Regions from separate parts of the Homo sapiens genome. Here all the other regions are linked to region 2. The links are contacts of gene promoters, found by promoter capture Hi-C in blood cells and fetal thymus (Javierre and others, 2016). All regions are on one chromosome and are shown on one strand. Each heading gives the region's core, a stretch centred on a gene start or on the middle of the fragment in contact. The rest is flanking DNA. Distances are from core to core; before and after follow the strand shown.

Region 1 (3,749 bases), core at 19-2,518, 520 kb before region 2:
TAGATTTCTCATTCTTTGGAATTAGATGCATTAGATCACTAGGGAATCTCAACCGATTACAGCCTCCTGATCCCGTCTGTTTACATTCCATCTGCACACACTCCCCTAGACGCAACTAAACAACTGGTTTGGGATGAGCATCATCAACAGCACCTTGTGGCTCATCAAACACCATCTTTACTCAATATGGGTTAAGAACCACACCTGAATGCCAGCACTGATATCTAAGTAACTCTAAGAGGTGGGATGTCATTTTGCTGACTGGAATATTGAACAATCTGGGGACAGATATGCCTGTCCAGACCCAACACAAATTAACAAAAATCCTAAACACAGATAAATCCTAAAGAAAAATGTCAACTCATTTTCTTTAAAGAAAATGCTGTCCATTTAGAGGAGGAGAGGGCCAGCGAGAAAAAGGGAAAACGACCCCCGACTCCCAACACATCTTTTTCTCCATACGGGAAATACAAACATCTCTTTGAAGCGGCTTCTACAAAATCGGATGTTCTAGAGTCCTGAAGGAGCATTGGTCCGGGAACTAAAACAGCCAGCCACCTCCTGGCCACCTGTGTCCAGGTAGAGCAAGGTAGTTTGAGGATGCAGGGTTAGGTTTCGGAAAGGGTCTTCACGCCCAAGCGGACCAAGGCAAGAGAGTCGGCGATCCAGAAAGTGGAGGGCTCGGGCGCTGTTCAGGGGGAGAAAATGGGGCAGCGGGGAGAAAAGAGGATGGGTGCTTGGTTCATATCCCAGCTGTTAGGGCACCAGGCAGGTCGAATCCTCTGGTTGAGACCAGAGCCTCCACTGTTACGCTCCCAGAGCTTCCTTTACCCCCACCCCCGGACACCAACCCGCGCCCACACACCTGCCCGTCGACCCGCAGGTGGCATTCTCTCGGTCAAGGGCACGAGGTGAGAAGGGCAGGGTGCGCCGGGACCCTGTGCAGGTAGCCCCAGCTCACCTGGGAGAACCGGGCGCCCCAGGCTCCTCGCCTCGGCCCCCTGGCCCCCTCGCCCTCTCGCCTCCTCGCACTCACCCAGATCATGAGGCTGTCGCACAGGGGCAGCTTAGGCTGCGGCGGCGGCTGCGTCTCCTCCATGGCCGGCGCCGCCGTCGACGACGCCGCGGACACCTTCACACTCCCTCCTACCGGCTCTCCTCCAGGAGCCGGCGTCCACGACCTGCTAGCCCCCAGGAAAGCTCGGTACCAGGCCCGACCCGCGCAGCTCACGCGCGAACCCTCGCGCTGTCGACGCGTCCGGCGTCACCCCCTCCTCACCCGCCCCCGCCTCGCTCCAGCGTTCGCCCCCTCCCCTTCCTGGGCCCCGGCCGCGCTGCCAGGCACCTGAGCCCCGCCTTCTCCCACCCCTCCCCTCCTCCCACCCGTCCTGCCCACTCCCGCACACCTCGCCCCGCCGCCCTGAGTGACCTGGCCGCGCACCAGTCACAGAGACGGTAGGTACCCGGGGGGGCGGGCGGGGCGGGGCGGGGGCGGGAAGAACCGGGATAGGTTGCGCAGGGGGGATTGCTGATTGGACGTGCCCTCGTGGGCTCTGGCCAATCAACGTGAGACAAGCCTGAGCCTTGGGTAGAGAGTGAGAGTGGGTGGGAAGAGGTTTATGACCTGGCAGGTGCAGTGAGGGCGGGGGTGGGAGGTTGCGCGCGGGAAGCGAGCGCGCGTGCGCGGCGGGGATTGGTAAGGCTGAAGCTCAGCCCCAGTGGCCGAAGAGGCAGAGGGGCAGCAGGGCACCGGCTGGGCTCAGGCGTCTTCCCTCCTTCTTCGCGGTAGCACGCCGCCTCGCTACACCTGTGGAGGGCCCACACTCTGCTTCCACATTGTCTTCAGAAATAGATCCTACCGGCTGGGCGAGGTGGCTCACGCCTGTAATCCTAGCACTTTGGGAGGCTGAGGCGGGTGGATCACCTGAGGTCAGGAGTTCGAGACCCGCCAGGCCAAGATGGCGAAACCCATTCTCTACTAAAAATACAAAGATTAGCCGGGGGTGGTGGCACATGACTGTAATCCCAGCTACTCAGGAGGCTGAGGCAGAAGAATCGCTTGAACCCGGGAGGCACAGGTTGCAGTGAGCCGAGATCATGCCACTGCACCCCAGCCTGGACAAAAAACCGAGACTCTGTCTCTAAAAAATATATAAAACAAAATAAAGAAAGAAAGAAATAGATCATACCCATGAATTAAAACTCTTCGAGGAAGGAAGAGCTGATTTCCTCCTAGGCACTCATTGGAAAGGGATGTTTTCATTTGCACACGTGGCAAATATGCCACATTAATAAGGAAAATAGAATCCGTCAGTGCTCCTTAAATAAGCTCTCACGGGACCATAGATCATGAGCAATTTTATTTTACATGGGGCAAAAGGGAAGACCGTTTTCAAGTAGCAAAATAAACGAAATGTTTTGAAAAACATGGAAGATATTAATGTATCCATTTTCCTTTGTCAGTTGAAAATTTGCTTTTTCCGAGAATGTTGTGGGGTGGAGGGGGGTCGGGGGAGGTGACCTGAAATTGGAAGCTCTCCAAGGTATTGATAGATGGCTTAGGTGATTGAAAAGGGCTAGACTATTCTTAGTCTTGCTGTCACTTCACTCATTCATAAACTCATCAATTCATGCTCTGAGTAAGAAAACAGCTGGCTTTTTTTTATATTGCTGCGTTTTTATATTTAGACACTGAAAATTTAAAACTGATGGACGACTGCAATTAAAAGCCCCCAAGTGTAAATCAGTCTCATTCTAAAAATACAGTATGTACGTTTGCTATTGACTCCCTTAACATTATTCCAGAACTTTCTTAACGCCTCTGGAGTCACTTTATATGCTGGAACTAGGTACATTGGTAATGTGATTTAATTAAAACTACAAGATTTAGGAATTGAAGACCTGGTCTGAATCTTGACTTTATTCCCCACTGGCTGCTCTCCTATAGCCCCCAACCTCCACATTCCTAAGATCATTGTAATTAAAATGTAAACATACATGGTAAATGTAAATTATAAACTTTGTAAATATGAGTTACTATTATCATCTATACATATGGGAAACTTCTCAACATATTTATCACTGAGAGCCACAAGTGACCAAATTTCTCAAATAAAATAATTCGTGAGAGTAACTTGGTGGGGGGGGCAATTAAGTTATGCTTCTGGACTTTATAGAGAGTAAATTATCAGGGAAGGAAAAATTTAACAATTTTTATCAAGAAACTTTAAAATATCCATATCATTTAAACCCATGATTCCAATTTATTCTGCGTCAGTCATAAATTCTGTTGAAATCATCAGAAGTGCATTTGGAGGCTTTGAACAATGATATGTATGGCAATGCTATGTATTGATCAATTGTATAATCGATTGATACAATGCCCAATAAGCAAGGAAGGCTAAATATTTTACAGCAGATTCAGTGCTCTGGAGAATATTTGATAACTCAGGAAAGTTGTCACAATGTATACTATTAAATAAAATTTAGATGAAAGTATCAGCCATATGACCTCAATATTATAAATATTAGGTATGTATTTTAATATATACACAGGAAGAAGACAAAGGAATAATCATAAAACTGTTGTTATATTTATATACAAATGAAAAATGACTATTTTTCTAATCTTCCATATTTTCTAGGCTTTCTACAATTAGCTTATATTACTTTATAATCAGAAAAAAAGACTTTAGAAGAAATGCCAAATACAACATAAGTTATCATTTCCAACTATTAAATTGGCATCA
Region 2 (4,060 bases), core at 1,158-3,657:
CGTCTCTCACCTATATTACTACAATTACCTCTCTCCGGGCTTCGCCAATCCAATTCATTCTCCAAACTGCAGCCAGAATTAATTTTCTATAACATAAACCTGAGAGTATGTATCACTGTTTGCCCTGGAGATATATTTCAAACTCCCCTAAGATGATTCACCAGACCCTTCCTGACCTGGCCTTCACCCTCCCCAGCCTCCTGTCAGGTGATTTTTTCCAACTTATCCTTTCCTGCACAGCCATCCTAATCAACCATGTGCCATGCTTGTGTAGTTCTGCACATGCTGTTCCCGGTTCATATAATCCCTCGCTCTTTCTCCAGCCCACTCATACTTAGGCTTTGGAACTCGGCTCCAGTATTCCCTTCTGGGAAGTCCTCCCCAAATGGCTTCCCCATGTTGAGCCATTTGCCCTTCTCTCAACTCCTGGGAGTCTTCGGCATACCTTTTCAATGTACTCATCTCACTATCACATAATCTCCCTCATCAAAGTGGATTGAAGCAAACTGGATGAAAGCTTGAAAGCAGAGACCAAGTCTTACTCATCTGCACTTTCCCAGAGACTACCACAGTTCTGGGCCCAAAGTATGTGGACAAGATGAGTGAACAAATGAATACATGAAGAACTGATTTGGATGATCTCTGACACCACCTGGGTTGATTCTATGTCCCTCCATTATAAAAAGGTGGGCGGGTGAGAAGGTAAGTGATCTCTGTAGCACGTTCTGGTAAAATAATCATTTCAAATCCCCCTGGGGGTGGAGGTAGGGGGTTCCACTCTGGCTAGGAGATTAAGGGCAAGATTCATTACCTCAAATTATTTTAAAAACCAGCTGGTAATTGACTGTGATTTAAACTATTTAAATCAATAAGTGAAAGGTTAGGTAAAGGGAACTATTTAAACTAATAAGTGAAAGGTTAGGGAAAGGGAACCAAATTCCAGGAAAAGCCAAGGCCCACAACAAAAACTAACACAGCCTGGAAGGCCCAGCCTCCTCCCAGTAAACTTATTAATTTTATCCAGAAAGACATGGCTCTCCACCCTCTGGGGTTATGCCCTTCTCCCAGCACACATGTTTTGACTTCCAAATCCAGCCAGGCAGGCTCCCAACCTCCCTCCCCCTCAAAATTGATCTCCAGGCCCAGCTGACCCCCTCTGATCTGTTCCCCCAATCATCCTTAATAACAGTGCTCTGGGCCTCCCACTAGGAGGTCCTCCAAGAGCCAGGCCAGTGGCCATCAGGTCAAGAGCCAAGCATGAGGGCCCCATTAACAGGAGACTCCCAGAAGACCAAGCGGCAGTCATCTGGCTGGAAAATCCAGCAAGCAAGTTAAAAAGGAAAAAAATCAGGACATACACGTGGTGGATCATAGAAAAAAAAGAGGAAAAGCAAGCAAAAACTATACAAAGCAAAACTCTACCATTTAAATAACAGCCACAAAATAAAAGACTTTCCCTTCTTTCATTCTGATTTACAAGTCAAAAGAATAAGCACCTCACCCCTCCTGGTCTCATACTTTAAAATTTAACCTAAGGATTAACTGCTTTTCAGACTTTGGTCATGTCATGACTGACTCTTCGGGGAAGAAATTTGTGTTAAGACACAGAAGTGCTTTAGTGGAAAACAGCCCATGATGAGGGAAATTCACCATTTTGCACCTTGTCAATTTTTTTTTTTTTTTTCTGAGACGCTCTGTCCCCCAGGCTGGAGTGCAGTGGCACGATCTCAGCTCACTGCAAGCTCCGCCTCCTGGGTTCACGCTATTCTCCTGCCTCAGCCTCCCGAGAAGCTGGGACTGCAGGCGCCCGCCACCACGCCCGGCTAATTTTTTGTATTTTTAGTAGAGACGGGGGTTTCACCGTGTTAGCCTGGATGGTCTCGATCTCCTGACCTCGTGATCCACCCGCCTTGGCCTCCCAAAGTGCTGGGATTACAGGCGTGAGCCACCGCGCCCGGCCCCTTGTCAATCTTTAAATAAAAAGGAAACGGCTAAAAATGAAAAGATATCCCTAGGCCTTTCTACTCAGGATAACTGTAACCAAACAGCATTATCTCATCTAAACTCAGCTGTGCCTCAAACATTATCACAAGTGCTGGAAGCGTTTAAATCTACAAGCAACACTAGCCTAAAAATGCCTTCGGTAGCCAGACGTGAATTAAAGGCTCCTCAAATGCCAGGAAAATGTCCTACAAGGGTAAGGGGAGGAGAGAAAGAGTACTGAATACAGATAAGTGGGCACTGATCGGAGAGGAAGCAGCACGGGTTCCAGACACCTAATAGGCAGCCTTGGGGATGCAGTCAAGGCCGACCCTTCCCTTCCCTTCCCTTAAGTGGCCGGACGCCTCACCCAGAAGAGGACACAGGGGACTCAACAACGTCTCGGGAACAACGGCCCGGCGGGTGTGAGACTAAGCGGCCAGGAGGAGGAAGGGGAGGAGGAGGCAGGGGAGGAGGAGGCAACGACTGCGGGAAAGGGGAAGGAAGGGCCGGGCCGGGTTGGAGAAGCCTCTTTCTGGGCGTGCGCGCTAAGAGCCTGCGCACCAGCAAAAGCCCCCAGCGCCCACGTGGGACTGAGAGGAGGGTCACTTACAGTACTTGTCCAATCTGAAATTACATTTTAGCTAGACGGATTCTGCACGTAGCCGCGCCGAACCCCACGGCGCCTGAGCAGGGCGGTCCCGGGGCGGCTACAGCCCCGCCTTGCGCGCGATCCCGCCCCCGCCGGCGCGGCCCCTGTAAAGCGCGGCCCCTGTAAAGCGCGGCCCCTGTAAAGCGCGGCCCCTGTAAAGCGCGGCCCCTGTAAAGCGCGGCCCCTGTAAAGCGCGGCCCCTGTAAAGCGCGGCCCCTGTAAAGCGCGGCCTGATTGGCCCTTTGAACCGGGCGTGGGATTGGCCGTCGCCTGCCCACCCCGCGGCTGCAGCGTTCCCTGGGGCCTAGCCAACCGCGGGCAGGGCTGGGCAAGGCGGGAGGAGCGCGGACCCAAGATCGGCTACGCTGCGTCTGCTCAGGCTGCGAGTTCCCGGCTCTGGGGACTCACCTTGCGGAGCTTACCCAGGCGGACTCTCCGCAGCCCCTGATGGGTGTGTGTGTCAGACCGTTTACTAAACACCAGGACTGTTGTAGGCGACTGTAAGAAATAAGAATATTGCATGGTTACAATTCTTGAATGCTTACCTTGTGTCTTGTTCCTTACTCTACAGAAATTTTCTAATCCCGTGGCGAACCCCCGTACTTCAACGTATGACATTCTGTAAATCTACAAAACAGATGGGTCCCTGCCTTTGAGAAGTTTTTACAATTTAGTGGGTACTGGACACGGACCTAATTTAATTCTCACATGCCTTCCCTTTCTAATAAGCTGCATGTTATGTATCCCTATTCTACAGATGTGGGGAATCCGAAATTTTTAGCTTTTACTGGGACACACAGCTAGCAAGCAACTAAAGCGAGAATTCCAACCTGAGCTCCAATCCGAACTATTTTCATAAAAGGCAGGATCCCAGGCTGAGGGAGTTCGAGGTTTGGGAGACAGTTTAGCAGTCGCTGAGTCCAAACATGTTGTTTTCCTAGAAAAGAAAACTGAGATCCAGGAAAGGGAAGTGATTTTCCAAAGACACACCTGTGAAAGGTAATAATTTCACTGAACGGATCTTAAGTGGCAGGTGCACTAAGATTGTCTGCTATCTTCACAACAACCCCGAAGTAAATAAGTGCTCTTATCTTGGTCTTACAGGTGAGGAGAACAGCCCAGTGAGGCTGAGGCCACACAATTAACCCCAGTCTTTGCACTACAACTCTACCAGGGATCCTGGTTTGGCTCATTTTCTTTCTTCTGCACCATGATTGTTCACCTTTTCATTACCAGCAACATACCCAAAGACCTAGCTATAGACTCGTTGGAATCTGTTACTTAGCAGCTGTGTGAATCAAGTGTTCAATAGGAATAATAAGATGTATTCATCTTACCTTTTCAGAACATTATGAAGAACAAATGTGGTAAGACATATGAAAATGCTTTGTAAAGTGTTAGATGCTTAATACACAGAAGACATTGCTT
Region 3 (4,102 bases), core at 349-2,848, 740 kb after region 2:
GGGAGGGCACATGCATGCATCCTTTGTAAAAGCTCCACTGGCCTAATTATTCCGAAAATATTTTAGGTTATTTTTTTTCCTCCTATTTTATGCTGAAATAAATTCCTGGTAGATTAAATATTTTAAAAGATTTAAGAAAGAACAAAGTCATTCAAGTACTAGAATAATGATAAATATTTAATCTTAATTTTGAGACAGACAGTAGATATGATCTCGAAGGCAGAAACCATAATGAAAAGATGGATATTTTTGACTGTATCAAAATTTCAGCAATTAAGTGTATTTTTCACCTGAATCAACAAAGTTGAAAGACAAACTTCAAGTGGGGAAAATGTTTGCTACATAAATGACAGACAATTCTTAAATGTATAAAAAAATGTTTTAAGTTTATAAGATACAAATGAATATATTACAGAAAAATGGGTTAAGGGCATGAACAGGCAATTTGCTAAAGAAGAAATCCAAACAGCATAAAAGCATGAAAAAGCATTTACATTATTATAAATCAAAGGAATACACATCAAAACAACGAGGAAGCTTTGATCTCATCAATGTTTTAAATATTTAAGGTAATTTAAATCTTGCTTTTCAAGTGGGTTACGCATCAAAATGTTAACAGTGGTTATTTTGGGATAGTGAGGTTAAGGGTGATTTTTCTCTTTTTTGTTTTGCTTTTCTATGGTATTAGTATTTCACTTGTGCAATAAAGAAATAATAGTTTGCACTGACACTTAGAAAAGTGCTCATCTGGCATCTTTGAAGAACTGATCTCTGGGGAGTGAGCAAGGGCATGTCCACAGTAAGACCTTCCCCCATGGCCCTGCATGGAGCTCGCTGAGCCATACTGAATTATCCCACACCCAATTTCAGGAGCTGGGTCCTGGTGGCTGCAGTATAGACAAGAGGAACGAGGCTGGAGACAGGGAGACCAGTCAGGATACTAGTGCACTAATAATTTAGATGGCAATTCGTAAAAATAACACACTGGAACTTGGTGTGACCATTCTCTTCAAGCAAAAAATTAACTTTAAAATGGCAGATTTATTCATGTTATGTGGGAAGAAGGGCTAGGATGACACAAGAAAGAAAAAGAAGTCAACTGTGGTTGAAGTAAGCACTGAGCTGATTTTTGTTGGAGTAGAACGTTTCAATGAAGATGCTGAAATTCTCTGTGTTGGAGTGATTTCAAATTCACAATTTCAACCCTTTTGGACAGTCATGCCTGGCACATATTCAAGAAAAACGAAAGGCCACTTCAGTCAAGGTGCCACCCATACATTGCAGCCTTCCAAGTACGTGACCCTCATCAAATCCTGTGGCTGTTTCACCTGGTTCTCATTCTGAATCTATATCATCAGAGGCCTGATTGTTGTCTGTTGAACTTCTGTCTAAACCTGTTATAAGACAAGCCATGCCTCATAATTCTTCAGAGTCACTCTCTTCTTTAACTCAGTATTCAGCATCCAGCACTTTCTATAGGAGGTGTGAATGAATGTCTTTCTGTGTCATGGCATTTAATATAGTTTTCCACTGGAGAAGACTGAATTGTTTTAGGCTGGGTTCCCTGGAAACAGATTCTGAGATAAATCTTTTTGTGCAGGCTTATAGGGGAGAGACCTCAGGAACAACACTTATTTATTTATTTATTTAGGACGGAGTCTTGCTCTGTCACCCAGGCTGGAGTGCAGTGGTGTGATCTCGGCTCACTGCAACCTCTGCCTCTCAGCTTCAAGCAATTCTTCTGCTTCAGCCTCCCGAGTAGCTGGGACTATAGGCACGAGCCGCCATGCCTATCTAATCTCTGTGTGTGTGTGTGTGTGTGTGTGTGTGTGTGTGTGTGTGTGTGTATGTGTGTATTTTTAGTAGAGACAGGGGCTTCACCATGTTGGCCAGGCTGATCTCAAACTCCTGACCTCAAGTGATCTGCCCACCTCAGCGTCCCAACTTGCTGGGATTACAGGCGTGAGCCACTGTGCCCGGCCAAGGAACAACAATTCTTCTGCTTCAGCCTCCCGAGTAGCTGGGACTATAGGCACGAGCCGCCATGCCTATCTAATCTCTGTGTGTGTGTGTGTGTGTGTGTGTGTTTGTGTGTGTGTGTGTATGTGTGTATTTTTAGTAGAGACAGGGGCTTCACCATGTTGGCCAGGCTGATCTCAAACTCCTGACCTCAAGTGATCTGCCCACCTCAGCGTCCCAAGTTGCTGGGATTACAGGCGTGAGCCACTGTGCCTGGCCAAGGAACAACACTTATAAGGGAGTAAGGGAAACAGGACTGGGTAGAGGCAGAAGTGGAGCTTCCAGTCCCATGGAGGTCTCTGCCGCGTGGATGGCCTTGCAGTGTTATCCTCAATTGATGCATAGGAGTCAGGACTGTGTACTCCCAAAGTTTGTGGGGTAAGTGTTGTCGCTGGGCAGAGAGCCTATCCTTGGATGAAGCCGGTGTCTCCAGCCAAGGGAAATCTCTAGGGAGGCAGGCAGCTGCCAGAATGATAACTTCAGTGAATGGGGATCTGCTGGTGTAGCACAGCATCTACTTTCAGTGTTACATCCAAAGTCAAACTTCAGTGATGCTGTCACGGGACACAGTCTTCAGTGTGACCCTTCAAGCAAACCTCCTACCATGAATACTCTGTAAAGAACACCTTCAAAAGCTTCTTACACCTCATTAAGCTGTGCTTAAAATGAAGCCCTTTTCCCAAGGGCATATCCAAAGGAAATTATTCATGTCAATCCTCTGAATTCAGACGGGGTAAATAGCTTTGGAAATTTGACAAAAGCCAAACTTTTAAGTGTAGCAAATCAATATTGCTTGGTTGGAAGGTTGGTTCTGAGAATGGAATCTGATCATGTGTCTCAGTCAGTTCAGGTTGCTACAACAAAGTACTGTAGACTGACTGGCTTCAGCAACAAACTATTTTTTCTTACAGTTTGGGAAGCTGAAAGTCTGAAATGAAGATGCCAGCATGGTTGGATTTTGTGAGGACCCTCTTCCTCGTGTACGAACAGCTGTCTTGTTTTATCCTCACGTGGCAGAGTGGGAGCTCTCTGATCCCTTTATCTCCTTACAGACTTGAATCTCATTCATGAGAGCTCCACCCCCATGACCTAATTACCTCCTAAAGGCCCCCATTTCCAAATACTGTTAATATTGGGAATTTAGGGGTCAACATATGAATTTCAGAGGGATACAAACATTCAGTCCATAGCACGTTGATTAAAAAATTGCTTAAAGGGCAGCACAAAGAAGATGTACAGCCAGAACAGAGGACTTATTCAAACTCTAAATCCTCCAGCAGCCGTGACCGGGAAAATGTGCCGCTCAGATCTGCTCTGGGGAGCATAGTTGACTGCCAGGCCCTGCCCCTGACCTTCTGGCTCCCCAACTCCATTTGTAACAAGCGCATGCTCCCCATAGACTGCTCTTAGCCAATGATCATGCATGGTGTGAACACTAGTGGATGCCCATCTCTGCAAAATATGGAACTCCTCTAAGCAGGCAATTTTGGCCTAAGGACTCCTCATTTTCAAAACCTTCTTAGAACTGTGCTACTACCTGAGGTGCTTCTAATCCAGTCTTTCTTCTTTCCCTCTCTCCTTTAACCAGTGTCATGATCTGAGGGCCCTTCCTGTCTATTCCTGCTCCTGCTCCATTATCCTTCCCAGGATTTTCCACGCAGTAAATATGTCTTGCACATCTGATTCCACCCTGGCATCTGCTTTTTAGAGGGCCTGTTGATACAGGTGGACTAGAAGTGGGGTGATCTGAGAAGAAGATGGTAAGATCGGCTCTGAGAGTGGCTCATTAATTGCCCAACTGGCTACAAGAACTCCATCTTGAGTGGAATGTGGGGTCTTGGATAGTGTCTGGCACAAGATAGTGGCCCCCGTGTGGATTTCAGTGATGGCGACCTGGGAAACTGGCCCAGTGGAGGGCAATGCCATTTAGGTGAGATAGTTAATGCACTTGAAAGATGGAGGGAGCAGTGTCTGAAAGAACAGTGCAGTGGGCTGGTTATTGCTACATTGTGTTGATGCCCTGCATGGGATAATGAGAAAGTGAGGGTCATTTGTAAACAGTTAAGGCTGAGTGGGAGTCAGA

What was found. The method cuts DNA at HindIII sites, captures the fragments that hold promoters and counts their contacts. A CHiCAGO score of 5 or more calls a contact.
Region 1: the fragment with the promoter of HOOK1 here is called in contact with the fragment with the promoter of FGGY in region 2 in 3 of 17 cell types (non-activated CD4 T cells, naive CD8 T cells and naive CD4 T cells); the score reaches 6.8 in non-activated CD4 T cells.
Region 3: a fragment that was not itself captured here is called in contact with the fragment with the promoter of FGGY in region 2 in 1 of 17 cell types (non-activated CD4 T cells); the score reaches 5.2 in non-activated CD4 T cells.

Annotation. Positions count from the first base shown.
Region 1 is chr1:59,812,468-59,816,216 of GRCh38, reverse strand. HOOK1 (hook microtubule tethering protein 1) reads right to left here and starts at 1,268. Exons shown (of 22, transcript NM_015888.6): 1 at 1,037-1,268. The coding sequence starts at 1,099. LOC105378758 (a long non-coding RNA gene) reads left to right here and starts at 1,351. Exons shown (of 5, transcript XR_947426.3): 1 at 1,351-1,455. RefSeq lists an enhancer at 401-964 and a silencer at 1,201-1,800. The HindIII fragment of the contact is 6,303 bases long and covers 1-3,749 here.
Region 2 is chr1:59,295,441-59,299,500 of GRCh38, reverse strand. FGGY (FGGY carbohydrate kinase domain containing) reads right to left here and starts at 2,407. Exons shown (of 16, transcript NM_018291.5): 1 at 2,351-2,407. It overlaps FGGY-DT (FGGY divergent transcript), which reads left to right and starts at 2,951. Exons shown (of 2, transcript XR_001738089.2): 1 at 2,951-3,132; 2 at 3,737-4,060. RefSeq lists an enhancer at 1-948 and silencers at 2,366-2,455, 2,466-3,005. The HindIII fragment of the contact is 6,368 bases long and covers 520-4,060 here.
Region 3 is chr1:58,550,264-58,554,365 of GRCh38, reverse strand. No RefSeq gene overlaps it. Among named protein-coding and RNA genes, the nearest start is that of OMA1, 5.6 kb to the right of the region's middle. The HindIII fragment of the contact is 2,117 bases long and covers 540-2,656 here.